Linked DNA regions of Homo sapiens: region 1 is linked to region 2. Evidence: promoter capture Hi-C in human tissues and cell types (Jung and others, 2019). All regions are on one chromosome and are shown on one strand. Each heading gives the region's core, a stretch centred on a gene start or on the middle of the fragment in contact. The rest is flanking DNA. Distances are from core to core; before and after follow the strand shown. Region 1 has its middle 16 kb from the start of PTS. Region 2 holds the start of TIMM8B (translocase of inner mitochondrial membrane 8 homolog B).

The links. The method cuts DNA at HindIII sites, captures the fragments that hold promoters and counts their contacts. A contact is called where the count stands out against the background at its distance.
Region 1: a fragment that was not itself captured here is called in contact with the fragment with the promoter of TIMM8B in region 2 in 1 of the 25 tissues and cell types used here (bladder).

The regions. Positions count from the first base shown.
Region 1 is chr11:112,239,831-112,244,810 of GRCh38, reverse strand. No RefSeq gene overlaps it. Among named protein-coding and RNA genes, the nearest start is that of PTS, 16 kb to the right of the region's middle. The HindIII fragment of the contact is 5,450 bases long and covers 769-4,980 here.
Region 2 is chr11:112,085,297-112,088,005 of GRCh38, reverse strand. It overlaps TIMM8B (translocase of inner mitochondrial membrane 8 homolog B), which reads left to right and starts at 1,250. Exons shown (of 2, transcript NM_012459.4): 1 at 1,250-1,366; 2 at 2,544-2,709. The coding sequence starts at 1,283. SDHD (succinate dehydrogenase complex subunit D) reads right to left here and starts at 1,133. Exons shown (of 4, transcript NM_003002.4): 1 at 1,047-1,133; 2 at 33-149. The coding sequence starts at 1,098. RefSeq lists enhancers at 1-169, 863-1,132, 496-1,695. The HindIII fragment of the contact is 14,912 bases long and covers 1-2,709 here.

The DNA of each region.
Region 1 (4,980 bases), core at 2,244-4,743, 150 kb before region 2:
ATATGGTACATCATGTTTATTTCTGTAAATTTAATCATTTTTGAAGCATCCCTGGGATGAGTCCCACTTGATCATAGTCAATGATCCTTTGATGTATTATAGGATTCACTTTGCTAGTGTTTTGTTGAGGATTTTTGCATGTATGTTCATCAGTGATATTCGTCTGTAGTTTTCTTTTGTTGTGTGTCCTTGTCTAGTTTTGGTATCAGGGTAACGCTGACCTTATGGGTCTGGAAGTATTCCCTCTTCTTCAGTTTTTTTTTTTTTTTTTGAAGAGTTTGAGTAGGATTGATATTAGCTCTTCTTTAAATGTTAGTTTGAATTCTCCTGTGAATCCATCAGGTCCTAGGCTTTTCCTTGATGGAAGACATTTTATTATACCTTTGATCTCATTACTAGCTATTGGTTTGTTGAGGTTTTCTATTTCTTCACAATTCACTCTTGGTATGTTGTACATAGAATAGAAGATGAAAAGTATAATTTCATTTCTTCATTTATTCATTTCTTCCAGGTTTTCCAATTTATTAGTTTATGCTTGTTCATAATAGTCTCTAATGATTCTTCGTATTTCTGAAGTCTCAGTCGTTATGTCTCCTTTTTTCATTTCTGATTTTATTCATTTGGGTCTTCTCACGTTTCTTCTTAGTCTAGCTAAAGGTTTATCAGTTTTGTTTATCTTTTCAAAAAACCAACTTCTCATTTTGTTGATCTTCTGTATTTTTTGGCTCAATTTCGCTTATTTCTTCTCTGATCTTTATTATTTCTTTCCTTCCACCTATTTTGGGTTTGGTTTGTTCTTGCTTTTCTAGTTCCTTGAGGTGCATTATTGGGTTGTTTCTTTGGAATATTTCTACTTTTTTGTTATAAGTGTTTTTGCTATAAACTTCCCTCTTAGTACTGCTTTTGCCATACCCTATAGATTTTGGTATGTTGTATTTCCATTTTCATTTGCTTCAAGAAATTTTTAAATTTCCTTCTTAATTTCTTCATTGACCCCTTGGTCAAGGAGCATGTTGTTTAATTCCATGTGTATGCATATTTTCCAAGGTTCCTCTTGTTATTGATTTCTAGTTTTATTACATTATGTTCAGAGAAGATACTTTACCCTATCTCTTCCAAAAAAAATGCAAAAATTTAGCTAGGTGTGGTGGTGTGAACTTGAGTCCCAGCTACCTGGGAGACTGAGGCAGGAGGATCACCTGAACCCAAGGAGATCAAGGCTGAAGTGAGCTGTGATTGTGTCACTGCATTCCAGCCTGGGAGATAGTGAGACTCTGTCTCAAAAGAAAAAGGGCAGGATGGGGGAGGGGACAAAAAGCATTCTTAGTTTAAGAATAGGTTTTGCTTTAAAAATCATAGTACACTCATAAATTCTTGCTGAAATCAATAATTACACAAGAGAATAACAATACTAATAGCCTGTCGTAAATTGACCCCAAGTCTTTTTAATAAAGCACACTTTTTTTTAATTATACTTTAAGTTCTGGGATACACATACAGAATGTGGTTTGTTACGTAGGTATACATGTGTCATGGTGGTTTGCTGCACCCATCAACCCAGCATCTATATTAGGTATTTCTCCTAATGCTGTCCCTCCTCCTGCCCCCTGACAGGCCCCAGTGTGTGATGTTCCCCTCCCTTTGTCCATGTGTTCTCATTGTTCAACTCCCACTTATGAGTGAGAACATGTGGTGTTTGGTTTTCTGTTCCTGTGTTAGTTTGCTGAGAATGATGGTTTCCAGCTTCATCCACGTCCCCGCAAAGGACATGAACTCATTCTTTTTTATGGCCACATAGTATTCCATGGTGTATATGTGCCACATTTTTTTTATCCAGTCTATCATTGATGGGCATTTGAGTTGGTTCCAAGTCTTTGCTATTGTAAATAGTGCTGCAATAAACATACGATAAAGCACATTATTCTTAGCCCTTATGTAATCAAAAATCAGGTTCAGTCACATGCCACTTACAGAGTCCAGTTAACAAGAGCAAGATCTGGTATAAAGAAAGTGACTTTTGGCTGGGCACGGTGGCTCATGCCTGTAATCCCAGCACTTTGGAGGCCGAGGTGGGCGGATCATGAGGTCAGGAGATCGAGACCATCCTGGCTAACACGGTGAAACCCCATCTCTACTAAAAATACAAAAAATTAGCAGGACGTGGTGGCGGGTGCCTGTAGTCCCAGCTACTCAGGAGGCTGAGGCAGGAGAATGGCGTGAACCCGGGAGGCGGAGCTTGCAGTGAGCCGAGATCACGCCACTGCACTCCAGCCTGGGCGACAGAGCGAGACTCCATTTCAAAAAAAAAAGAAAGAAAAGAAAAAGAAAAAGAAAAAAGAAAGTGACTTTTTATTCCAAAGCTAGCTTAGAGGAAGACGTAAAGGCTCCTGCCTTTCAGGGTACCACTTCCCTTTTGGAGCAGAAAGCAGGTGCTTTTAAAGGGGGACTTGGCATGTTAGATGAACTTGCCCTGTAGGGAGTAGCTGGTGAAGGGAGGTAAAAGGTTATAATTGCATTTCTGAAGAGCTAAGTAGGAAGTTGGGAGCAGGGGGAAAGCAGAAAGAAAAAAGAACAAATAATAATAATTTAAAAAATAACTCTTTTTCTTAGACAAACGGGAGTACTCAGTTACACTAATATCCTATATAAGCAAGCATCATGTTTGAGGTAGGGGTGTTCCTCCTCTTGCTTTCTGAGGACATCTTACTCTTTAATAAGAGTAGTTTCTAATAAACCATCTTAACTTCACCAGACTCTGTGATTCACCCTGAATTCTTTCCTGTGTGAGGTCCAAGAACCCGGTCTTTGGGTCTGGTCTGAGACCCCTTTACAGAAACACACAGACATCAACCTGCTCTCACATGTGGGTGGAATATGCTATACCCCACAATCTGGTTAAGTTGCATTTTTTTTCTTTTGCAAACACCATTTTCCCCTTCAAGAATGGAGCCTTGACTCTCCGCCTAGTAATCTGGGAATTACTGAGGGTTATTACAGCAACAAATTAGGAGGCTCACATTTGCCAGAAAATAAATATTGCCTCAGTGTTACCACAAATGAGGTCAGTTCCACATTCCAGAAGGAATCCTGCTCTCGCGGCCAAACAGATAGAATGATAAAGAGCATTCTTTGCAAAATCAGCTGAGGCTCTCCCTGCCTAAGACAAATCTATTCTCCAACAGCTGGGAGAGAGACAAATACATGCAACCTTTATTGTTTACCCTGCTAAAAGGGAGGCCCCTTGTGTGGTCATGAGGATGGCCATTTACCAAAAGGGCTGGGATTTAGAGTTCTGGCTTATCTTTACCTAAATCAGTAGTTGAAGACTAAAACAAATTGTATCCACAAATAGCAATGGAAAATTCCCAGGAAGATTAAGTTAGGCAGATAAACAGCTTTGAAGGAATACTTACGAAATTTTATTTTATATTGTAGTGGTTGTTCTCTAAGCTGAGCTGCATAAAGAATAACACCTATCTGAATGATGCTCAAGAAGTTTGGCATTAGACCAGATGCAGTGGCTCATGCCTATAATCCCAGCACTTTGGGAGGCCAAGGCAGGAGGATCACTTGAGCCCAGGAGTTCAAGACTATCCTGGGCAACATAGCAACATCTTTGTCTCTACTAAAAATCTATCTATCTGTCTATCTATCTATCTATCTATCTGTCTATCTATCTAATATAAATTAACCAGACATGGTGGTATACACTTGTAGTCTAGCTATTAAATCTCAAAAAATTTACCAAACCAGATTACTAGATTCACCACTTCTTTAGAGATGGCAGGCACATTCATTCATCCTGTAAATAATTATTCAGCACCTGTTGTATGGCAGGCATTACACTAGGTCCTGGGGAGACAAGAATGAACCAGACAGACAGGGCTTCAGCCCTTGTGAAGCTGACACCCTCGTGGTTGGGATGGACAGTAAACTAGTGAAAAAGACAAAAGGAAGCAAATATACAAAACTTTAAAACTGCAAGAAAGAGGAGTATATGGTATTGTCCTAGAATACAACAAGGTTCTATCTATACGGCTGGCCTGAGGAAGGCTTCTCCAAGAGGGTGACATGTAAGCTGAGATCTGAAGAATGCTTAGGTTTTTCTGCAGGGGATTTAGGGGAGCGGCAGTTCAGGGAGAAGGGCAGTAAATGCAGAGCTCTAGAGACAGGAATGGAATTGGTGCGTCTGAGGACTTCAGAGCAGGCTAATGTAACCAAAACAGTGAAGGGCTTGAGGCTGGGAAGCAGGCAGGGACTGGATCCTATCAGGCTTGGTAGATAGTGTGGGGAGTTTGGATTATATTCCTAAAGCAGGAGGAAGCTTTCAAGTGGTGATACGGGGGAGGGAAGTGACAAGATCTAATTTACTCTTTTAGAAAGATCCATAGGATTGTGGAACAGAACTAAAGGGGAAGGCAGAGACCAGTTAAGAGGCCATGTCAGTAATCCAAGCAAGAAACAGTGGCGGTTTGGACTCATGTGGTGACATCAGAAATGAGAGACAGGGCCAGACGCGGTGGCTCACGCCTGTAATCCCAGCACATTGGGAGGCCAAGGCGGGCAGATCACCTGAGGTAAGGAGTTCAAGACCAGCCTAGCCAACATGGTGAAACCCCGTCTCTACTAAAAATATAAAAATTAGCCAGGCATGGTGGCACACAACTGTAATCCCAGCTACTCGGAAGGGTGAGGCAGGAGAATCACTTGAATTTGGGAGGCGGAAGCTGCACTGAGTCAAGATCGCGCCACTGCACTCCAGCCTGGGTGACAGAGCAATACTCAGTTCCCCCCCGCCCAAAAAAAAAAGAAAACTAAAAAACGAGAGACAGACAAAAACCATTATACATGTTGGAGGTAGAACCAGAACCTTCTGATAGATTAGATTTAAGAGGTGGGAAGGGGAAGGAGTAGGTCAAAAAGAACTCCCAGGTTTCTCATTTGAAAAAATGAATGGGGCCGGGTGCAGTGGCTCATGCC
Region 2 (2,709 bases), core at 1-2,500:
CCCAGAAAGCAGCAGCGATGGAGAGAACATACAATGGTGGCTCGGTGACAAGTGTATGTGCTGCACTCCACACCATTCTGGGATAGGTCGGTCCTGAAGAAATGCTGAGATATGAGCAGGTCTGACCACTGGAGTTCGAAGCAACAGAGCTGAGGAAAGAGTCATTAGGATGATCATAAGAACCTCTCCTTTAACAGGACTGACAAACTTTCTAAATGACCATAGGTAAGCTACTTAACAATAAATAGGGGATAACATCTTATTTGTAAAATGAAGATAGCATCTATTTCACTGGGGTTACTGTGAAGTTAAGACCAGGGAACATCTGCATGTTCCCTACTTTATTTAATGACACCTCAGGCATTCTTTAACCTAACTCAGTAATCTGGAAATCATGAGAGACTTTTCCCCTAAATTCAATCGCCAAATCCTATTGGCGTATCTCTTTAACAGTTCTTGAGACAATCTTCTTTTCTTTGTGCTACTTTCCTAGTTCAGGACCTCATCTTGCCCGGACTACTATGACAGTGTTTTCCTCATCAGAATGAAAGCTCGTTGAGGGCGGGAACTACGTTTTCTTCACATTTGTATCCTAGCATTACTACAGTACCTGAGGTAACACAAATGCCCAGGTTAAATGATTTTCGAACTGATCCCCCCTCCACTCCCACATCCAAACACACCAACTCCAGAAGAAATGGGCAAGCTCCTAACCCTCTTTCCCGACTCAGGGTGGGAGCGAGTGGGGAGCATTCTAGGGACAGTGAACGGGGAGAAAACAGAACTGCTATGTGGATTAGCCTCATCAGGACTGCGACTTCCAGAGGGAGCTCTCTTTCTGATTATTCCCTCAACTCGTCAGCTCACAGCAAGTGAAATATACCTTCGGGTAAACATCTGGACCCCTAGACTACAGTGGTCATTGCTGTGATTTCGGTATTTTCTTCTCCTCAAGAGATCTCCCACCCGGCAGATGAGTCCTCACTTCCATCCCCTTCCCTGGCTGGAGGCTACGCTAAGCACCTCAGGGTGGGAAGACCCCTCACCTCGGCCTCCTAGGGCACCGCAAACGGCACTCAGCCTCCAGAGAACCGCCATCTCGTTCCTGAGGGCTCAAGGTCATCCACCAACCCGGAACCACTTAGGCGACAATTCCCACCCACGACGACGAAAGAAAACAGGGAAGAGGAAATGCTGGGTGAACCGGAAGTCGAGAGGCGGTGCACACCCGTCGCGCATGCGCAAACACAGCTGTCGGAAGGTGGCGAGCCTGAGGCGAACAATGGCGGAGCTGGGCGAAGCCGATGAAGCGGAGTTGCAGCGCCTGGTGGCCGCCGAGCAGCAGAAGGCGCAGTTTACTGCACAGGTGCGGGGACGGGGAGGGTGAAGGGAAAGGAAGTTTCACCTTCCTTGGTGGTCCTGGGCACGCTCGGAGGTCTGTACACTGGCGGCTCACTGGTGCTCGATCCCGGCTGCATCCCATTCCCCTCACGAAAGACAAAGTTATGGCTCTCCTGTCCCTGGTGACCGGTAGTGCTCAGGTGCCAGGTATATAAGCGTAGCGTGGAGAAAAGAAAAGGTGTAAAACAGGGAAGATTTGGGCGACGCAAGGGTACGGGAGACTAGTTAGCCGGCGACATGACTGGGCTGGCATTCGAAAGATCTGGGTTCTCATCCTCCCTCTGCTCCTTGCAGGCCACGTGCCCGTAGAAAAGATACTCATCCACTGTGGGTTTTGGTGTCGCCGTCACCCCACTGCCTCACTGGATTGTGAGGATCATATGCGACAATGTATTTGAAAACGACTAGAACATTATCGGAGGAAGGTGGACTCTGAAGTAGTCGCTGTAGACTATGGATGTAGAACAAGGGTTTGGAGCCCTTCGGACATGGTTCTAACGCGGCCTGACTTCTTGCTGGCTACATGACCTTGGACTACATAATCACGCCTCTTAAATGGGAGGTGATGACAGCTATCCTTGAGGACCTTAGAGAGAACTGATTTCTTAGTACCCAGCCTCACAAATAGTAAGCTCTTGGTAAAATGGTTTTTTCCTTTTGGGTGGGAGGAAGAGGGTGCTCGGATGACCAGCAAGAACCCTGGCTAGAAATCTTTGGGCCCTGAACATTCTAATGACAGTGCACATAATTTCTGTGCCTGTATGTGCATTTTTCTGGGGAGTGGATCCATAACCCCCAAAAGGTTAATGGAAGAATTACCTTGTCTAGGGGATAGGTTTGGAATAAAATGAGTGCAATAGTTTGGGAAAATTAATTGGTTCCCTAGTTGGTTCACAATGGTGCTAGCTACTTTGGGGAATATAAAAGGTTATTAGTCCTACCTGAGAATGTACAATCTGTAGGGACGAGGATCTGGATCAATATTGGTGACTAATTAGGAAATGAAGAAAGAGAAGAGCCCAAAGTGACTCCGTGGTTGATTTAAAGAATGGTTTTGTCAGGTGTCAAAAAGTGAGAAGTTAATAAACAAGAGTTAGGCCTATCTGCAGACCCCAATGGTTACTATTTTTCTTTCCTTTTAGGTGCATCACTTCATGGAGTTATGTTGGGATAAATGTGTGGAGAAGCCAGGGAATCGCCTAGACTCTCGCACTGAAAATTGTCTCTCCAGCTGTGTAGACCGCTTCATTGACACCACTCTTGCCATCACCAGTCGGTTTGCCCAGATTGTACAGAAAGGAGGGCAGT